Regions from separate parts of the Homo sapiens genome. Here region 1 is linked to region 2. Evidence: promoter capture Hi-C in 16 types of primary human blood cells and fetal thymus (Javierre and others, 2016). All regions are on one chromosome and are shown on one strand. The core of a region is centred on a gene start or on the middle of the fragment in contact, and the rest is flanking DNA. Distances in the headings are between cores, read along the strand shown. Region 1 holds the start of LOC124906008 (a long non-coding RNA gene). Region 2 holds the start of CFAP36 (cilia and flagella associated protein 36).

Evidence for each region. The method cuts DNA at HindIII sites, captures the fragments that hold promoters and counts their contacts. A CHiCAGO score of 5 or more calls a contact.
Region 1: a contact is called between a fragment that was not itself captured here and the fragment with the promoter of CFAP36 in region 2, in 1 of 17 cell types (neutrophils). The highest score is 5.2, in neutrophils.

Annotation. Positions count from the first base shown.
Region 1 is chr2:54,586,124-54,591,130 of GRCh38, forward strand. The region is part of intron 2 of SPTBN1 (spectrin beta, non-erythrocytic 1); the gene reads left to right. LOC124906008 (a long non-coding RNA gene) reads right to left here and starts at 3,311. Exons shown (of 3, transcript XR_007086322.1): 1 at 1-3,311. RefSeq lists an enhancer at 3,492-3,541. The HindIII fragment of the contact is 8,072 bases long and covers 1-5,007 here.
Region 2 is chr2:55,518,468-55,523,688 of GRCh38, forward strand. CFAP36 (cilia and flagella associated protein 36) reads left to right here and starts at 1,251. Exons shown (of 10, transcript NM_080667.7): 1 at 1,251-1,449; 2 at 3,635-3,699. The coding sequence starts at 1,335. RefSeq lists enhancers at 552-601, 1,782-2,031. The HindIII fragment of the contact is 7,670 bases long and covers 1-3,102 here.

The DNA.
Region 1 (5,007 bases), core at 1,890-4,389, 930 kb before region 2:
CTGAAATCCAAGTGTGGTTTGGAGACGACTTTACCCCACTCCTCCCCAAACACACATTGGTAGTCCGTGGCTTACTTGCGTAGACAACTGTGATTGTGGAGTTTGGCACTCGAATTGAGACAGTCGTATTTAATTTATCAATCTGTCGTTTCAACCCTGAACTTTTCTACAATGGGTTATGGTCACTGGCCAAAAAGGGTTTAGGTGACTCATGTGTAATGTTCTTCAGAACAGAAGCCAATTTTTAAATCCTTTTGTATTTATGTTCATTTATTTTTAAATATAATTCCTCTTCTCATTAAGTGGAATCTTGTCATAATTCTATAGTTTCAAGTGATAACTTGGCATTGCTGTGGCTTTCTTTATTCCAAAATGCTAATCCTTTGCAGATAAATTTATACATTCTGTATAGTCTGATTTGGAGGACTTCTGTATCTTAGCTTATCTTAGATGGGAGCTTCCATAATTCATTCAGGGATTAGTCAGTGCTATACTGTGCATGCATAGTAGACAGCTCTGTGTGGTGGCTTTAAGTCTTTTGACTCCCCCTCTTTCTGGTCTTTGTGTCTTTCTGGTTTAAAAGAAAAAATATCCCTCAGACCTTAGCTTTTTGGATTCAATGAATTACTGTTAACTTTGACATCCTCATTAAATAGGAGAGCTGTCGGAAACTGTCAAGAACGGCTGGAATTGGTACTGTTATCTTGTTGGCGACGTCAGCTTCTGTGGGCATCTGTGCAAAAACATTGAGGTAGAGCAGAATCCTCTTCTATCTTGAATGTCTGAAAATAATGTGACTGGTGTGTTTGAAAGAGTTCTATTTTTCCCTCTTTGCCCTTAATTATTTTGGCCTTAAGGATTCCGGAAACCTGGAGTAGATTGAAAACCATAATAAGCAAGGGCCGGGGAGCATGTTATTTGATTTTTTAATAAACTACCTCTGACTAGCTTACACGCCCCGTAGAACATTAAGGCTACTTTTTGTGTATATTGCATGAAATAAGAAACATCACAAATTTGAATTCTCTCTCAATACCTCTGCTTTATCCAAGGCTCCTACAACAAAAGCCTACCTTTAGCCCTTGAAAATGAAGTAGAGGATTTTATCTTTACTGGTGAATTTGTGTGCCACATGGTAGACTAGTATAGAATGTAATATTTACTGCTTCTTTAATGTTCCTTAGGAAGAATATCACACAGACATCTCCCTTCTCCATATGTTGCAATTATACTACTTTCATGAAGTCTTGAGTGTGCCTGTTACGGTTGGTGCGCTTTAAAACATTCTTTTCTACTTAGTCTGTATTCGTGTTAACGTTCTGCCATTCTGTGTTAAGTTCTGCCGTTCTGTGTTGTTTAGTAATTAAGTGTATGGTATCTATTTAGTTCTAAGTTTTTCCTAACTTTTAAGGGCATTGCAAGTTACCCTCAGCCCACCTTGGATTGAAGTCCCCTTCCATGGAGGACTGGAGGAGAAGAGGTGATGGTGTATGAAGTGTCCATCAAAATAAGAGCTGAAGAGCCTTCAGCTTGTGGGGAGGGCTGGAAAGTTGGAAGATCAGGCCTCAAGCTGTTCCACCCTTCTCATCCTTTGAAGGTGAGGGTGCAGCCTTGAGGTCTAGCCTGTGGTGATTACCATAGTTTGTCCCTCCTGCCAAATGGGGTGGCACACTCCATCCCGTAAGTGAAGGTAACCAGATAAATACCCACTCCGCTGGGGAGTGGAAGGGGCCCCGAGTTCACCCTGTGACTGACCTGACATGTGGATATCACTTACCAGAAAATGCTTGTGGCTACTGAGCATTAACCTGGCAACATATTCAATAGCAAAATTTAAAATAGTACCCAGTGTGGTGCCTTGCTCATAGCAAGCACTTAGTACCTATTTGCTAAGCTGATTTTAATTTGAAGTGGAGTCTAACAAATGGGATGTGGGATCAACAGTATTATTATATTGAAATGTTTTAAACCAGGACATGCCAAACTTTTTCTATAAAGGACCAGATAATAACTGTTAGGCTTTGTGGGCCACATGGAGTCTCTATGGGGTATCATCAGCCTCCTCCCCTTCCTCTTCCTCCTCCTTTTAACCACCCTCTTAAAATGTAAAACCTGTGTGTCTCCCAGGCTACATAAAAAGAGGCTACTGGCTGAAGTTTGCTGACTCCTATTTTATATTAATCTTTTAACTCAGTCTGAAGGAACTGACCAGACATGGATGGTTATGAGTTTTTTCTTCTTGTTTTGGGGAGGTGATGTCTTGTTTTCCTCAGGCAGTGTGGGATGGTGGTTGGAACTAAATAGATACCATCCCACACTCCCTGTGTGGGATGGAGTGCCTCAGGTGCTTTGGGATTCTGTAGGGTTCAGATAAATGTGGGCTCTAATTCTGGGTGTTTATTTGCTAGCAGCATGCCCTCGGGGGGATCCCAAAACCAGTCTGTGCCTCAGCCACCTCAGTTAGTTAGAAATCACAGGCTGTAATGAAGGAGGGAAAGTGAGTGAAGATCCTAATGCAGCATCACTAGTGCACACCTGGGCTTACTTCAGCCTTTGCCCTAACTGATCAGTCACCCTGACTGCAGTTCCCATCCTGTAGAGATGGAGAGTAGCAGGTTAATGGGCTCAGGATATGACTTCCTGTATGTGAAAGCAGTTTGGAAGCATGCTACCCATTTTTAGTCAAACACAGTGAACAGTTACTGAGAATTTTATCACAAGGTCCTAATTCTGTTTTTTTACATTTGCTTTTTCCACCTGGTTTTGGCACCTTACACTATTGGTTTTTTTTGTTTTGTTTTTTAAAAAATATTTTTAACTTTTGTGGATACATAGTAGATGTATATATTTATGGGGTATGTGATGTTTTAATATAGGTATGTGATGCTTAATAATCACATCGTGGAGAATGGGATATCCATCCCCTCAAGCATTTATCTTTTGTGTTACAAACAATCCAATTATACTCTTAGTTATCTTTAAATGTACAATTAACTTATTATTGATTAATTCACACTGGTTCCCACCTTAGCTCTCATCTTAGAAGAGGTAGTTGTGTTGCTTTGCCTCTTATTTTCGGAGAAAGCCCCCATCATAACCTCAGCTCCCTCCAGAGTCTTGGCTTCTTATGGATTGTGACTTTATGCGGCTCACCTTGACGTACGACTGTGACAGAGGCAGGACCCTGGTGACAGAGCCTCATTTCTCAGTTATTGTGGGTCTCCTCTCAGAAGTTGTGCCTGCAGTGCCTTGGTCTCCACATTGGCAAACTGGGGTTGTGCCGCTCAGAAGAAAGGCCCTCTGGAAGCTGCAGGAGGGACTGCCCAGCAGATGCAACCTGTAGGTGCCAGGTCATAGAGAGCTCATGGTGGGTTTTGTAGTCGGCCCATCAGACAGTTACTAGCAGACAATTGCATATTTGCTTCACATGCATTTAGAGCAAATATTTACATGTGTTTTGTCCATGATGCAAGTTAAACAGTTAAGGAAACTATTGTAACTCAAATTCTATTTTTATACAAATCAGCAAACATGAATTTAAGGCCTTCAGACTAGTCCGTCACAGGGAGGACTTCAGTCAAAAGATTAGTTTCCTTCCTGTTGCTGCCTCAAGATAACAGTTGGATTCTCTGTTATCAATACAGCCAGCTGCCTGTTTCCGGCTTCCTGCTCTGTGTATTTTGCATGTTACTCATGGGAAATGATTTATTTATTTTTTCAAGCTAAGGCATATAGGGGGACTCCACCCTACCACTATTCTTTTGTTTTGAGTTAAGATCCTTTTTTATTCTTTATTTTAAAACAGTTCAAGAATTAAACTTTAATATATAAATTGTTAAAGTTGCAACAAATTAAGTCTTGTGACAATTGACCTGATTGGGTCATGTTTAAATAATGTTGTAATATGTTACAATGATGTCCTAATCACACCGTTGTGTATTTTGCAACTTCACTTTACCGTACAGGTATGTGGTGGCAATTGCCCAAAGATAAAACAAGCAAACAAAAAACAGAATTTGTCAAACATTTTAGTTTGGCTCTGGACCCATTTTAGTCTGAATGACAGCACCACAAAATTGCATTTTTATCCGTATTTCAGACATTGAGGAATTGCAAGAAGCAGTTCACCTGTCATATATTTTTAGTGCTATACAATGACAACATTTAACTGCCTAGGGCCTGTCTTTGTGATATGAAATTTCCCTCCTCAACAATTTCAGTGAGACCACCACCAACAATAAGATTTATCGAGAACCTAGTTGTTGGACACTGGAGGTTTGCTGACTCATTGAACAAATGTTTATTGTGCACCTCCTTTATGTCATGTATATGCTAAAGCTCTAAACATGAATAGGATTGAGCCTTTGCCTCTGAGCCAACTGCAAGTTAATTGAAGAGATAGGACACAAGACGTATAATAAAAGATGAGAGACCACATCCCATCAAATGATGATTGCTGACATCTGATAGGAGAGGGCCTCTTGGTAGAACTAATCTTGGCTGGATCTTAAAGGAAGGGTAAGAGAAAACTGCCTTCTAGGTTAGAAGAATGATAGAAGCAAAGATGGGAAAAAGCAGTGTGCAAGGTGAGAGTTCAGAGCATGAGAGTAAGACCTGTTAGGTTGGAACAAAAGACGGCATGTCAGGGAAGTTCCCAGATGAAGCTGATGCCTTAGGAGAGCCCGTTTGGGACCTTTAAATGCCAGGTTCAGAGATTTGGACTGTCTTCTGGATAGCTGGGGTCCGTTGAAGGTTTTGGTGCAGTGCTGCAACTTTGAAAAACCACTGATTGAGGAACATGGCTATGGTAGTGATGTTTAAGGTGGATTAGAATGCGGAGAGAGGCCCAAGGCAGGGGAGTTCAGTTGGGGTCTGAAACCACCCAAATTGTGGTGAGCTTTGTTCAAAACACGCAAAAATAGATTGTCAAAATTATTCTCTTAGCAACTGATCTTGTACTTCTTTGTAATGTCTTTTTGTTATTTTTTAACTTTTTATTTTGTATCC
Region 2 (5,221 bases), core at 1-2,500:
AAAAAAAAAAAAAAAGGCACATAATGATCATCTTCATGCATTCAGGTAAGATACTGTGTGCACATTCACAAAATAAAAATAGACTAAAGGATGGTTTATGGAATACTATGCAGTTGCAAAGAAAGCACAAATTTATATTTTTAAAAGATAAAGATATAAGAAAAAAATTCATAACTGTACATATAATCCTATTTATGTAAAAAATATATATATATATATGGTTGTCTGAAGATATTTTGGGACTCCAAACACCTTCACAATGACCACTGAAGACCCCATTCCACAATGGACTCCACCTAAATGCTGAGTTGGAGTTATAATAAGATTTGGTTACCAAGGCATTTATTTAAGTGAGTATTAACTTTGCTCTTGCCCTTGAAAAGCTCCTAATTCTAGTTATCTTTATCCAAGCGTAAGAGATTAAAGACCCGCCTGAAGATACAGATGCAAACTGACCGTAAGACAATCAGCGAGTCTCACACAGCTCGGCTTTGTATTTTCAGACAACCCTTTAATTACAAACGCCTCTGGGCCAATGGTCTGAAAATGGTTGGGACTGAGGTGCTGGGGATACAATGATGAACTGCAGCCGCTGAAGCCCTGTCAGGTGGAGACCCGGTTACCTCAGACCCTCACTGAGCCTTTTCTTTTTTCTTTTCTTTCTTCCTGTTTTTCTTTTGAGACGCAGTCTCCCAGGCTGCAGTGCAGTGGCTCACTGCAACCTCGGCTTCCCGGGTTCAAGCGATTCTCCTGCCTCAGCCTCCCGAGTACCTGGGATTACAGGCGGCGCCACCACGCCAGGCTAATTTTTGTATTTTTGGTAGAGACGAGGTTTCACCATGTTGGCCAAGCTGGTCTCGACCTCCTGACCTCAGGTGATCCGCAAGCCTCGGCCTCCCAAAGTGCTGGAATTACAGGCGTGAGCCACCGCGCCCGTCTACTGCGCGTTTTCTAAACCTTGGCTCCTACGCATTTATCAGAAGAGAGAGCGCAATCTGTCTATGACTTCCAGCCAATAGCTACACTTCTTTTCTCAGCCCTCGTCCACTGTTCTTTTTTAACCAATCAGAAACGTTTTTCAAACGTTTGCCCTCCCCGCTAAGTGCGCAGGCTCCTGGAAAGTTGTCTTCACTTCCGGGCCGCGGTCTAGGGCGGCTACGTGTGTTGCCATAGCGACCATTTTGCATTAACTGGTTGGTAGCTTCTATCCTGGGGGCTGAGCGACTGCGGGCCAGCTCTTCCCCTACTCCCTCTCGGCTCCTTGTGGCCCAAAGGCCTAACCGGGGTCCGGCGGTCTGGCCTAGGGATCTTCCCCGTTGCCCCTTTGGGGCGGGATGGCTGCGGAAGAAGAAGACGAGGTGGAGTGGGTAGTGGAGAGCATCGCGGGGTTCCTGCGAGGCCCAGACTGGTCCATCCCCATCTTGGACTTTGTGGAACAGAAATGTGAAGGTAAAAACCAGAGCCCGAACCGACAATCCTTTTCTCCTCTCTCACACCAGCGGCGGGCAGGGGGTTGGTAACCACAAGCCATCTCTCGTCTCCCCGACCCCCTGTCTCCACCCCTGTCGCAAGGTCTCGTTCCCCTCACCACCTTCTCCACCCGCGTCATCAGGTTTAGAGCTGGTTGTGTGGGAGGAATTCCTTTCACCCTGCCAATGTGTTCCTTCGCAGACCTGAAAACGGGGACCGAGACTCCCCTTCTCTGGGGCCGAAGCGCACGTCCGAAGAACATTAGACTTGAATCGTAAATTCGGTCTCTCACCCTGTCCCGAACGTTTCTGCCCTCGGCAGGTGGACTGTTTGGCTGGGCTTCTTCAACAGCTTTGCCAGACTTGAGAGGAGAAGCGTCGGTTTACCTGAGTTCCTTATGATCCCTAGCATTTCGCCCGGTGTAGTCAGCTTAGGAAATGAGAAATGATTTCACTCCAAACCAACAGTTAACTGCAAAGGAGGGCATGTGATAACTCCAGGAAGCCCAGAGCCGGTGATTTTGGTGGCCTGTGTTCCCCTTGGTGAGCTCTCTACTCTTCGCTATACCAAAAATTGGCGAGGTGGGGCAGGACCATTCTTGGAACAAATGAGGCGTATAGATATGGCATAATATTCCCCGTGAAGGACAGGCATCTCCGGGTTCTGAGCAGTTCTTCAGGCTTGGAGTTCTGCATTCAGTTCGTGGAGACTATTTGCAGCCCATTCGCAGAAAAGGAACCAGAAACCACGTCATATAAATGAGTGCCCAAGCGTTATTGTGGTTGTTTAATCGGGCAAGACTTTGAGGGTAGTAGTATTCATCAATTATTTGAACATCTGCTTTGTGTTGTAAGGTTGAGTAGAATAGAGCTAGGGTCAGTTGGTACAAGCTACAGGGAAACAAATTTCAGTGAAGGAAGTGTTTCATGATAGAATGTATCCAAGATGAGTTAGCCAGCCTCAGAAGGTAATGAGCTTCCCGGCTCCAGCAGTGTTTGAATGGATCTGATAGCGACTTAATAGGGTTAGAGGGATTCAGCTATTCAGCTATCAAATGGTCGGTTATCCTGGATGACCTTTTAAGACTTCTTTAAATTCCAAGATATCATGAATCTGGTAAAGATGAAATTCAGTTTGACCACTGAATCTTTTCATTACATTTTCATTGCTATAATCAATATTCAAATCGTAGTTATTAAAGTGTTATTTTTACAGGTAATTTTTTAACAATGTTCAAAAACAAAATAACTTGTATTTGTACTCCTTTTTTTTTTTTTTTTTTGGGAGACAGAGTGTCGCTCTGTTGCCCAGGCTGGAGTGCAGTGGCGTGATCTTGGCTCACTGCATTGTTTTATACATATGATCATTCAGTAAACACTTGTTTTGATTTTATTTAACTTCATTATTTATCTGTGGTAACAAAAATTGCCTGGTCACTTTCAGTAACATTTACATCAGCAAAATTCCAGTACAATAAAATAATATGGAACCTATTGTAAAAGGATTTAACCATTAACAATAATATTACATTAAAAGTTATGAAGAAATTATTGCCTCATATTGATTGAAATGTGTTTTTGTCTTAAATATGAGGTAGTATTCATTTTAAATATTTTCTCAAGTAGGCAAAAAAGCTTGTTTACAATTAATAGTATATATGTGTGTGTGTGTGTGTGTGTGTGTGTATATTTTTTTTTCTTTTTTTTTTTTGAGATGGAGTCTCACTCTGCCGCCCAGGCTGGAGTGCAGTGGTGCAATCTTGGCTCACTGCAACCTCCGCCTCCTGGGTTCAAGCAATTCTCTTGCCTCAGCCTCCCGAGTAGCTGGGTCTACAGGCGCGCACAACCACGCCTGGCTGATTTTTGTATTTTTAGTAGAGATGGGATTTCACCACATCAGCCAGGCTGGTCTCGAACTCCTGATCGTAGGTGATCCACCCACCTTGGCCTCCGAAAGTGCTGGGATTACAGGCATGAGCCACAGTGCTCGGCCAATAGTATATATTTTTAGATATATTCATTTATATATTTTTAAAAGATAAACCCTAAGAATTCAAAGCTGAAGAGCTAGGTTGACAGTTCTATTTGGAAGGAGTGGATTTTTAAATTTGCATTAATAAAATGATTTGGTTTTTACACTATGTAATATTTTCTTTTAAATTTAGTTTTTGATGATGAAGAAGAAAGCAAATTGACCTATACAGAGATTCATCAGGAATACAAAGAACTAGTGAGTATTTTTTTTCACTGATTTTTAAAAGTAATTAGGCTAATACTACTTATAGCTTTTCTAAATGAAGAAAAATATTTTTACATTAAAAATCCTTAATTTTACAAAAATCCAATCTACCTTAACAATAGTGCCAGTTATATCTGTCTCCACAGGTGCTCTGAATATCTCATTTGGATGACTTATCTCCTCTACTCTAAGGAATGGTTTTACAACTCTTTATGGGTTCTTGCATGTATTCTTTATATCTTATTCTTATTTTGTTGACGCATCCAGGGACATATTAATTATTCACTTCGTCATGGTTGTCATGTGATTTTTTTATTTTTTATTTTTGAGACAGGGTCTTGCTCTGTCACCCAGGCTGGAGTGCAGTGGCACTATCACAGCCTATTGCAGCCTCAACCTCCCCAGGCTCAAGCGATCCTCCCATCTCAGCCACCTGAGTAGCTGGGACTACAGGTGTGCACCACCATGCCCTGCTAATTTTTTTGTATTTTGTAGAGATGGCGTTTCTCTGTGTTTCCCAGGCTGGTGTGGAACTCCAGAGCTCAAGTGATCCACCTGCCTGGGCCTCCCAAAGTGTTGGGTTTACAGGTGTGAGCCACTGCCCAGCCTGTCTTGTGATTTTAAAAAATGCCTCTGGCAGTGGGGCTCAGTGGCTCACACCTATAATCCCAGCACTTTGGAGGCCAAGGCAGGTGGATTGCTTCAGCCAAGGAGTTCGAGACCAGCCTGGGCAACATGGTGAAACTCCATCTTTATAAAAATTACAAAAATTAATCAGTCATGATGGCATGTGCCTGTAGTCCCAGTTGCTTGGGAGGCTGAAGTGGGAGGATGATCTCTTGAGCCCAGAAGGTCAAGGCTGCAGTGAGCCATTACTGTGCCACTGTACTCCAGTCTGGACAACAGAGTAAGACTCTGTCTCAAAAAAAAAAAAAAGAAAGAAAGAAAGAAAAGGCCAGGCGTGGTGGCTCATGCCTATAATCCCAGCACTTTGGGAGGCCAGGGCAGGCGGATCACCTGAGGTCAGGAATTCGAGACCAGCCTGACCAACATGGTGCAACGCCATCTCTACCAAAAAAAAAAAAAAAAATTAGTCGGGCATTGTGGCAGGCGCCTCTAGTCCCAGCTACTCAGGAAGCTGAGGCAGGAGAATTGCTTGAGCCTGGGAGGCAGAGGTTGCAGTGAGCCGAGATCGTACCACTGCACTCCAGCCTGGGTGACAGAGTGAGACTCCATCTCAAAAAAGAAAGAAAAGAAAAGAAGAAAAAAAAATGCCTCTGGGTAGCAGAAGAGTTGTACCACATTGAACTTCATAATCCTGACTTCAACTATTTCTATTAGAAGAAATACAATTTCATGTGATTTTCAGCAAAAATATTAACTTTTAATTTGTGTTTTGGTGAAAGACAATGTCACTGTCATGTAATATGTAGATTAATATTTGCAAAAAATTCGATGATACTTTTCTAAACTAAATACTTAATATGCAAACTGTCATGTAGAATTTTTCTAT